Linked DNA regions of Homo sapiens: regions 1 and 2 are each linked to region 3. Evidence: promoter capture Hi-C in human tissues and cell types (Jung and others, 2019). All regions are on one chromosome and are shown on one strand. Each heading gives the region's core, a stretch centred on a gene start or on the middle of the fragment in contact. The rest is flanking DNA. Distances are from core to core; before and after follow the strand shown. Region 1 overlaps MED27 (mediator complex subunit 27). Region 2 overlaps SETX (senataxin). Region 3 holds the start of NTNG2 (netrin G2).

Region 1 (3,350 bases), core at 181-2,680, 120 kb before region 3:
ATTCTGAAATTTCATGATTCCAAGCTTTGTTTTGTTGTCTTGTTTCATAAGACCATAGAAGGGTGAAAAGTATCAATAAAAAAGTGGGACATTTTGATAAAGAGAAAATACACAATATTCCCCTTTCACATACACTTTACGATATGATAAATTTCACTCATACCACTACACCAATATCAGCTCCTTATACATCACTTTTCAAAATGCTGTCAGCTACAAATTGATGACCTGTGAGATTTCACCTTGTCGTGCTCAGCATCAGTCCCCGCATATGGGCTGCCCAGCACTAAACAAAGCTGCTGCCAGCCACCAGGGGCCTCAGTCTCTTCCCTGCGGCGGGGAAATGAATTATTAAAAGATTAAAAAGCAAATGCCATCACCTTTTTGCTTTATTTCCCTGTGGGAGAATACTTTAAACCAAACTAGGTAAGAAACCGCATGGCAGGTTGCTTAAGAGCAGCCATTTATACACAGAGAAATCTAAGTTGGGATGAGAGGTGGGGCCGTGGAGAGCGGCTGGCTGGTCTTAGGCGGCTCCACATGCAGAGAAGGCATCACCTGACGAGAGACTGCCCGTACAAATGTCACGAGAAAGCTATAAATAGGGCTTTAGATCTATACATTGGGCAAAAGTGTGGTGTGGAAAACAAATACTAAGGCAGCATGTTTACTTTTAGCTGGGAGCAGACGGCAGAGCTTAACTACACCCAGACCTTCCAGCCCATCAGGCTTCAATCTGGTCAAGGACATGAAGGTCCCAGCAAGGAGCACTCAAGGTGACAAAGTGCTCGGCTCCACCAGCACATCTCTGTTTCTGCCGGTACGCCCTGTGCACGTGCACACACACCGCACACTCAAGCACCAGCACACACGGCAGGATATTCTAGGAAGGCCCAGGCAACGGTTTGATTTCCTCCCATATGCTTTGTCAAACAACTAGGTGCTTCCATCATTTTCCCTCATGTTGAGATTAGGGGAGGGGAGGGGGCCACAGCCTGGTTCCAAAGAGTTAAGCTGCACTCGCAGCCAGGACCCAGAGCCACTGCCATCTCACCACTCCAGAGGCAAGGCGTACAATTTATCTGGAAGCAGTGCAACACAGCAGCCCTGCTGGCAGCTGTCATCAGACCACACCACGGGCAGCAGAGAAGAAGAGCAGAAGGGAAGAACAAGAAAGAGGAAATAAAGTAAAGAGGGGTAGAGAGAAGAAACAAAAAGAGCAAAGGGAAAAAGAGGGTTGTCAACAACTGCCTCTGTGTCCCTCAGCACCTAATGTGGGCTGTGAGGGAGACGACAAGCTCGCTAACAGAGCAGAGAGGATGGCAGTGAGGGTCCAAAGTGGGAGAGTAGACAGTCATGCTGAGAGCCCAGACTTGAGTGGACTGAACTGAGCACGCACACACGACTAAAGAGTCTGCATATTTTCATGGCTCACACATCCACTCTCACACCATCAGCTCTGTGATTTGGGTGCAAGGAAACATTCTGTAGACACCAAGCTTTGGGAAGAACCAGGTATGGCATGTAGGGGTAGCACCAAATGAACATTTAACATAGGGGACTGCAGTTCTGCCAGACAGTAACCATCATGCTACCGACTGCAGCGTCCACAGAGCTCAGTCGCTCCCCATCTTCCTGTCGGGCACTGCAAGCACAGCCTCACACGGCGTCAGAAGGCCTGCAGTGCCCATGTGTGTTGTGACAAAGCTCGACTGAAAGATGGACAGTCACAGGATGTATGGAACAAAATGAAAGAGATTACTTTTTAAATTTTTAAATAGTCAAATAGTCAGTGTGCTGAAAAATTTGTTCTTAAGGGCCAAAGTCCAAATCAGTACGGTATGGCAAAGAAGAAAAGGGAGAAGCAATTACGTGCAAACACGTTCGTGGGGCCTGGCCTACGGTGGCAGCTGCCGCTGACTTTCTTCTTCTCAAGAATGCAAATGATTAAGATAGATTAAATACCTACTTTGCTTAAATACTCTTGATAATGAGTTTCTTTCCTTCTTTTAAGGGTGTTTGATGTTGGCAGTTGATGGATCTTGAGTTAAATTGTTTTAATTCAAAACAGGACCATCTGTTGTTAGGATCTGCCGGCACTGCAGAGAACCAGGGGAGGTGACAAAGTACGTGATCTAGAGATATGTGGAGACAGGCAGGTGGCGGGGTGGAAAGAGCACGGCACGGGAAGCACAGACGCTGCCAGTCTTGTCCCAGCTGGGCTGCTGAGTGGCCACAGGATCTGGGACTCAGTTTCTTCCTCTACAAATGAAGAGGCTGGCTTAAGGATGACAAAGATGATGGTGACGGCCATCACTACCGGCAGCTACAGTTATTAACCCATGCTGTGTGCCAGGCACGGAGAAAAGGCTTTCACTGAAACAGTCTCATGGACACCCTATTTATACATTGTATAAACTCTTTATGCTCGAAAGTGTGTATACTGATGTTGCCCCCATTTTACAGATGAGAAAACAGGCTTCACGAGGTAAAGTCACTTGCTGCAGGTCACAAGGCAAAAAGGAAGTGCCAAGAGGTATGAGACTTCAACGTCTGCACTCATAACCACAATGCCATACTGCCCAGGGACCTCTGGGACTGAAGATCCCACAATTCCTGCCCCTCCTTTATCCACAGTCTAGTGGCCACAATCTGCATTCACCGTGAGTCAGCACTGAAGGAAATGCCAAGAAGAACACTAAGCATTTCTGATGCTGGAATCTTAGATCTATGAGTGGACCCTGCTGCACACACCACCATTGCAAGTTAGATCTTATTTCACTGGGCTTCACTTTTAATCCACATCTGTGACCTGAATGTTGATGTGAGTTATAAAAATTAGCAAAAACTGAACTAGAGCCAGTGGAAAATCCCCAGCATTTGACTTTTTGAAAGGCTAGCCATCTTTCAAGATAGGTTTATTCATTTGGAACCATGGTATTGATTGTATAAAAGAGGTGATCACGTACCAATTAATCATGTGTACATTACCTTTGCCAACTCTAGCTATGGGAACAAATTAGAGAGGTCAATACACAGATATCCCATAGACCATAGGTACTTTTGTTTTTGAGGGACAAGGTAAGTTTTCTAGTAACATCTGGAGTAGGCAAATGTAAAACTCTCAGTAATAAGAGCACTGCTTCCCCAAAATTTAAATGACTCTTCAGAAAAAATCTATATAGTTAAAACCAATAAAGTTAAATCTATATAGGGTGAGGGTCAAAAAAACCACAATACTATCAACACAATGAGGAGGTATTACAGTGTTTCAAAACGGAAAGAAAAAGTAACACTTATACTAGAAGTCCAAGATTTGGGTGCTAGCATCACAGTTATTTTCACTGCCA
Region 2 (3,540 bases), core at 794-3,293, 100 kb after region 3:
ACTCCATATTCTTCTCTCTCAAGAAGATTAGGAATTTTAGCTAGGGAACTATGTGCATACTGAAACAGGTAAATGAACTCATCACAGAAATATAATACCCTGGGCCAATGCACTCTATCTAAAAATGCACCATGTCAGCAAGACTTTACCTAACATAACCGTGCTGCCCAAAGTGTCCCCTAGGAGACTCCAGGTTTTTGGGGGGGTTTTTGCTTTTTTTAATAGAGCCAGAGACACCTGACCCACCAGCACTAACTCAGCTTATTCCAAGCTAGGCTGTTAAATAATTATCTGTCTTGCTCTAACAATGGTTGAAAGGACCCGCCCTCCTCCCATCTTTTTTTTTTTGGTAATATAAAGTTTGTTCTGTTGAAAACTGATTAACATTTTAAACAGGGGGAAAGAAAAGCGGTCTACTAGATTAAATTTTAAAAGGATTTTGTTATTTGCTATACAAATATACATTTCAACTTTTACAACATTCACTCCAGTCTGACCTCCTTGTCTATAGAAGACTAAGAGATCAACATTTCCAGTCTCTGACTTCAAGGACATTATTACGGATACACAATGCCCTCTGAAAGCTTTTGCAAATGACAGAAAATACTGAAGATGACCAGAGGCTCAGGTGTTAAGGATGCATTTTCCATGTTTTCCAACAGCACACAAACTCCTTACAAAAAACAAGCTTATCTAGATGGTCCCACGAGCTGGTCATCTTCAGTTTACAATATGCTGTGGCTGCTGGCCCATGTCACTGGGCTTTCCTATAAAAGCTTTCTTTTCTTGGAACTGCTGTCCTCCTGCTCCAGTGTCCTCTTGTCCCACCTAGAGTTCCTCCTGGTGTGATGGGTCTCGGAACCACACTTCTCCTGCTCCCCTTCACTGAAAGCCCTGGCCTCTCTCCTGTGACAGAGCTCCTCTTCCGGGTCATCACATTTGCTCTGACACGTGGAAGCCTCGGGACTGGCAGCTGGAGGTTCGCCCCGCACGGGAGGTTTGTGGCTGCTCAGAGCAGCCACTACAGCAGCGGGCTGCTGTATATGGCTCAGGTCCTGGTGAACGACAGGGAAGCCCGGCTCGCCCGTAGGAGGTGTTGCTCCAGGATGCTGGGGGCTCGAGGGTTGTGGATCCCAAAGGAATATTCCTCCTTTGACCTCAATGCCCATCCTCTTCAGCAGTCGTGGGTCCTGAAGTTGGTCATGAACAGGAGGTCTTTCAGGGTCCTTTGAAGTAACAGTAAGAGTAATTTCCTTGGAGTCAGAGGGTGTGTGGTATAGAGAAGCAGCAACAGATGTCTTGGCAAATCCACTGTCTAGCTTGCTGCTGGGCAAACCACCCTGGGGTCTGGACCCCTCTGGGGCTATGGTAGGAGGGTGAGTGAGACTTCTCTGCAGCACAGGCTTGAGTTTCAGAATCTTCACTGCATCATGTCTATAGTTTTTGTCACAGGTCTTAATAATGGCACCACGCTTCTGAGCATCCTGAATCAGCTGATTCCAATGCTGGTTTTCCTTGAAACAATGAGAAGGGAGAAATAATTACACCCCAAAGAGACACTGCTTGGGAAGCATAGAGTTCCAGCTTTCATTTCTGAACAAATAATACATATTATTGTATGAACATATTCTCAAGATTCATTACTCGTCAGACAAGGATGAAAGGAAAAAATAAATTCAAATAAAAAATGATAAAGTCCCATTCCTAAAAATAAGACCTGGTCACAACCTATAATGGAGAACTTCAACTTTTGTTTTTTTTTTTTTTTTTTTTGAGACAGAGACTCACTCTGTTGCCAGGCTGGAGTGCAGTGGCGCGATCTTGGCTCACTGCAACCTCCACCTCCCGGGTTCACGCCATTCTCCTGCCTCAACCTCCCGAGTAGCTGGGACTACAGGCACCCGCCACCACGCCCGGCTAATTTTTTGTATTTTTAGTAGAGACGGGGTTTCATCATGTTAGCCAAGATGGTCTCGATCTCCTGACCTCATGATCCGCCCGCCTCAGCTCCCAAAGTGCTGGGATTACAGGCAGGAGCCACCGTGCCTGGCCGAACTTCAGCCATTTTTATCAGTGCATTCAACTGCAACGCAGGTCTGCACTAGTCACTAGGAGCATCATGTTGCTATTTATATTTCAATAAATTAAAATAAAAAATTCTGTTCCTAAATTGCATCAGCCACATTTCAAGTACACAGCGGTCACACACGACTAATGGCTATTGTACTGAGCAGTGCAGACACAAAACATTTCCGTTATCACAGAAAGGTCCTTTGGACATTGGTGATCTAGAGTACTGCCTACACCTCTTGGCAGGGCTAACGTTCTGAAACAGGAAGGTCTGGTTTCAGAAAGCAAACTTCTGAGTGCATGTGACTATTCTAGAAAAAGGCCCAAGGCTTTCACTGGATTTCTAAAGGCCTCCCAAACCCCGAATGGCTAAAACATCTTCATCCACCGAGATCTCAAGATATCATCTCACTTTCTGCCTGTTTCCTACAGGAGCTTAAGATATTAAATCCCATCGGGAAAGTTGCCAAACACATGCACCTCTCCTCTCTTCCCGAGTTTCTTCAGAGGAGGCTGCTGCTTTACAACCACTAGAATTCGGGTCTCTTTAGAAAGAAGAAAGAAAAGAAGAAAAAGGATAGCTACCCTCTCATGGGGGCTCCTGTACTGTTCATAAAGGTATGTTAGGGAAGCAGTGAGGCTGCACAGTATTTACTTGCTGTGTGACCTTGGTCAAGTCACTTGACCTCTCTGAGCCTGTTTCCTCATCTGTAAAATAGGAGTAATATTTTATTTAATGGATTCTAAAGTGCACGTTGCTTTCACATTTTAGCATTTCTGACCTTGGGGAGCCTCTTGGCCATGTACCTATCCTTGGAAATTACATGATGAGGCAATTATAACCCTTAGACTTTTAGTCAATAAACCATTTAAAAATAATGCCTGAAAACCTTCTACAGACATTTTCTGATAAGACAAGATAACACCAGCATTAAAACTTATGCACTGGGCCAGGTGCAGTGGCTCATGCCTGTAATCCTAACACTTTGGGAGGCTGAGGCGGGCGGATCACCTGAGGTCAGAGGTTCAAGACGAGCCTGGGCAACATGGTGAAACCCCGTCTCTACTAAAAATACAAAAATTAGCCAAGTGTAGTGGTGCACAGCTATAATCCCAGGTACTTGAGATGCTAAGGCATGAGAATCGCCTGAACCCAGGAGGCGGACGTTGCAGTGAGCTGAGATTGTGCCACTGCACTCCAGCCTGGGCAACAAGGTGAGGCTCTGTCTCAAAAAAAAACCCCCAAAAAAACCTTATACACTGGAGATAAAGGGTTCTAAGAAATCCTGGAGACAATGGTGTAACTCTTAGCAAATGCTAAATTGCCAACCTTATTATTGCACTTGGGATGAATGACAACACTGATGACTATGGATTGGGAAGTGATTCATTCGTGCTAAATTCTGAAAGTGAAATATTTTTAGGAATATCTTAACCTATTATTTTACTTGTATTTTCTATGTATGGATA
Region 3 (3,530 bases), core at 13-2,512:
TGCAGTGAGCCCACCCCAGGAGGCCAGGAGTGTCCGAAAACCACATGTGCTTCTGGAAGATGTGGAAACTCTCCCAGAAGCCCTGGGAGGCAGGCTGGCAGGAAACCTCCTGGGGATCAGAGAGCCCAGGGCTGCCGGATATGATATTGTGAACTCGGTGGCCTCTGCCCGGGGCTGCTGCTACCGGAGCCCTCCCACACCTGCCTCCCATGCTTGCAGGGGAGGGAGACAGAGAACCCCTCAGCCAGGCCCCTCCTGCCCCACTACTCTGCACTCCCTGCAGAGCTGGCTTGGCTTCGTCAAAAGCAGGGCCCATCAGGGTGGAGGCGGCGATGTGTCAGCTGGTATTCAGGCTCTGGTTGTGCGCTCAGATCGCTCCCCCTCCCCATCTCCCCAAATCCACCCACCCACCCCGGTACCCACTGCTTGGGGCCTTCTGGGTGGCAGCACTTCACAGAGAGAGACCGAGGAGCAGCCCTGAGCCCTTGGCTGTGGGGGGTGGGGGAACTGACTCACTTGGCCCCCCTCCCTCGTGCCGATGGGGCAGCCCCCACACCCATGGGCGCTGGCACCCCGGCAGGCCCCCGGGTTTTGGAAGAGGAAGCTGCAGCCCGGCTGCGCCTGACCGGAGCCGGCTGAGGATGCGCTCTGGGCGCAGGGACCCGCTGGCCCCCGGGCCGGGAGGCGATGTTTAGGCAGCGACCCCCCAGAGGCTGCCGGGGCCACCCTGGCCACGGGCCCGCCGGGACGCCCCTGCTCGCCGCGCCCCTCCCCGGGCCGTGGCGCGTCCCCCGAGCCGCGCAATATTTCCTTCCTGCACCTTTAAGAAGACCGTTGCTCCGTGGTGGGATGGTGTGTTAAAGCCACACAGAGGAAGTTACGCAGCCCGGATCAGACCGAGAGATAAAAGCCCCGATGGTGATCGTGAGTGATGGCAAGAGGATTTAGCCTCGGCATTAACTTGGAGCGGAGTGCAGGGGGGCAGTGAAGCGCCCGCCATCTGGCCCGCGCCGCGCCGGGGGGATGCCCCGGCTCCCCGACGAGACGCCGCGAAGCCCACCCGGGCCGGGGGCTGCCCGGCGCCCGAGCGCGGGTCCTCCCCGGGCCGCCCAGGGGGGCCAAAAAGTTTGCACTTGTTAGCGGCGACCTCCCGCTCAGCCCGGGCGGGCGATGCGGGCGGCGCGGGCGGCCCCCTCCCCCGGCCCGCGTCTCCGGGACGGCTGCGGGCGGCCCCCCCGGCGGCCGGAGGGCTCCCTGGCCCCGATCTGACGGCGGCGGCGGCGGCGGCCACAGCGGCGGGAGCGGCGCGGGGAAGGAGCAGCGGCTCGCAGCCCTCGGCCCGCGCCCCCACCCAGCGCCAGCCCGAGGGGGGAGGCGCAGCGCCGGAGGGTGGCGGTCCTCGGCCCTCCCAGGTCTCCGCGCCGGGAAGCCGCTCCGAGCCGGGGTAAGGCGGGCGGGGAGAGCCCGGGAGGCGGGCGGGGGGAGAGGCTGCAGCTTGGCCAGGCCGGTTTCATTTTTAAAGGGCTTCGGTGACCATGCAGGCTTGCCCGGGCCCGGGAGCCACTTACAGCGGCCCGGCAAAGGCTCGGATGCAAAAGTTGTTTGGTGGCGGCTGCTACGAGCTGAGAACTGGAGTCGCCCCAGAGGGGTGTGTGAGGGTGCGTTCTTAGCAGCATCTTAAAGGGGTAGCTTGTCTTTCTGGCCAGCTTCCCCCGGGTCCTTTCCGTCGTGTGTGTGAGAGTGTGTGTGTGTGTGTGTGTGAGAGAGAGACAGAGTGTGTGTGTGTGTGTGTGTGTGTGTGTGTGTGTGTGTGTGTGTGTGTCGGGGAGGGATGTTGCAAGGATGCTCGGATGTGTCTCGGAAAAGGAAACTAACCCTGCTCCCGCGCCTCTCCCCCACCCCAATTCCACCGCCACCGCTTAGAGCCACCCCCATCCCGTGCCCTCCCATCTCTCTGCAAACTGGGAGCCTGTGAGTTGCACAGAGAAACTCCCGGCCAGTCCGGCTGGAAACTTCTCCCGGCGCCGGGAGGGGGTCGGGAGGTGAGGGGGCGCAGGCACTGGTTTGGGGCCGGCGTGGAGTCGAACCTGGAACTGAGCGGCGCGCAGGTGGGGGGAGCAGAGGCGGCGGGAAGGCGGGAAGAGAGGACCGCGGGCTCGCGGGGTCCGCCCGCTCCGGAGTAAGTTGGCCGTCTGGGCTGGGGGCGGCGGCGGCCGGGTCGCCACAGGCGGCAGCGCCGGGGCAAAGGATACAGCCAGTTCCTGGGCGCCCTGCTCTGTGTCTTTTAATTAAGAGAGGCAGTGCCGAAAAAGGGGGCGCCTCAGTCCCGGCCGGGCCTTTATTACGGGCTTAATTATTAATTGCTGCCGTGGCTTGCACGCAACTTTGGGAAGACGAAAAGCAGCTGCGGGGCTGCCGGGTCGTCGGTGTCCTAGGCACAGGGCTCGCAGCCGGCCCGAAGCACTGACTCGACCCTGGCCCCGGCCTCGACCCCGCCCGCGGCCCGCCGGGACCCACCCGGGAGCTGCTGCTCGCGCCCCGCCTCCCGCGCCCAACTTTCCAGGGCTCCCGCGGGCGGGGACCCAGGGGCCGGATAAAGGGCCCGCTCCGGAGCGGGGGGACACCCGGGCCGCCGGAATTAAGAGGCCCGCCGAGGCTACAGTGAGCGCGGGGCGCCCGCTGGACCCCGCCCGGGGCAGAGGACGGGAAGGTGACCCCGCCGGCCAAGCTCCCTTTCCCTCCCGGCAACCGCCACTCTCCCCTGAAAGCAGATTTCACCCCCCTCTGCCGCCCCTGCCGAGGAGGGAGAGGGAACCCCGGGGTGGGCTGAGTATCCCCCCTAGCCCCGGGAGCCCCCAGCGCCCTCCCTCCCGTGCCCCCAGGGGCCCCGCGCCCGCCGCGGCAAGTTTCCCACACGGCGAGGGCGCAGCAGGCAACTCCAAGAGGAACCTGCTGGCGAGCCCAGCCAGCTCGGGAGGCGCTAATTCAATAAGACAGAGAAATCTGAGTTCAGAAATCCTGATAAAATCTAATTTTCGAGTTTTAATACCCTGGCTATCAGCCCCCCTTGGTTCCTGAGGACTCTTAAAAGAAAATAAAGCACATTGATTCTATTTGTTTCTGGGAGCTGCAGTTTCTTAATAATATCAGGTGAAGATAAATTTTCCACGGAGAAAACGATCCTCCGGGATGCAGCTTCTTACTCTGAAAATTTCCCTGCCGACTCCTCACTCTCTGCGCTCCTCCTCGTTATCCGGGGACTCCTGCCTCTCTTCCCCCTTCTCTTTTTTCTTTTTGGCAGAACCCGCCTGCAATATTCGTGTGCTGAGCTCGTAATTCCCCCTGCGATGCCAGCAACGCCCAATTGATTGACTAGTTGTAAACACATTTTTCCCCTGGCAGATTTTGTTGTTGTTAGGGTTTTTTAAATTTATTTATTTTCCAGGGAATGCGTGGCATTTAAACCAACAGGACTGCAATTAATAGATTTGCGAGTTGCGCCGCGCGCGCCGCTCGCCCCAGCCTCCCGG

What was found. The method cuts DNA at HindIII sites, captures the fragments that hold promoters and counts their contacts. A contact is called where the count stands out against the background at its distance.
Region 1: a fragment that was not itself captured here is called in contact with the fragment with the promoter of NTNG2 in region 3 in 2 of the 25 tissues and cell types used here (dorsolateral prefrontal cortex and hippocampus).
Region 2: a contact is called between a fragment that was not itself captured here and the fragment with the promoter of NTNG2 in region 3, in 2 of the 25 tissues and cell types used here (H1 embryonic stem cells and pancreas).

The regions. Positions count from the first base shown.
Region 1 is chr9:132,039,915-132,043,264 of GRCh38, forward strand. The region is part of intron 2 of MED27 (mediator complex subunit 27); the gene reads right to left. Among named protein-coding and RNA genes, the nearest start is that of MED27, 38 kb to the right of the region's middle. RefSeq lists enhancers at 388-889, 890-1,389, 1,872-3,071. The HindIII fragment of the contact is 6,261 bases long and covers 1-3,350 here.
Region 2 is chr9:132,263,472-132,267,011 of GRCh38, forward strand. SETX (senataxin) reads right to left here. Exons shown (of 26, transcript NM_015046.7): 26 at 1-1,514. The coding sequence ends at 768. Among named protein-coding and RNA genes, the nearest start is that of SETX, 90 kb to the right of the region's middle. The HindIII fragment of the contact is 6,889 bases long and covers 1-3,540 here.
Region 3 is chr9:132,160,796-132,164,325 of GRCh38, forward strand. It overlaps NTNG2 (netrin G2), which reads left to right and starts at 1,263. Exons shown (of 8, transcript NM_032536.4): 1 at 1,263-1,444. It overlaps LOC124902291 (a long non-coding RNA gene), which reads right to left and starts at 905. Exons shown (of 2, transcript XR_007061826.1): 1 at 821-905. The HindIII fragment of the contact is 9,283 bases long and covers 1-3,530 here.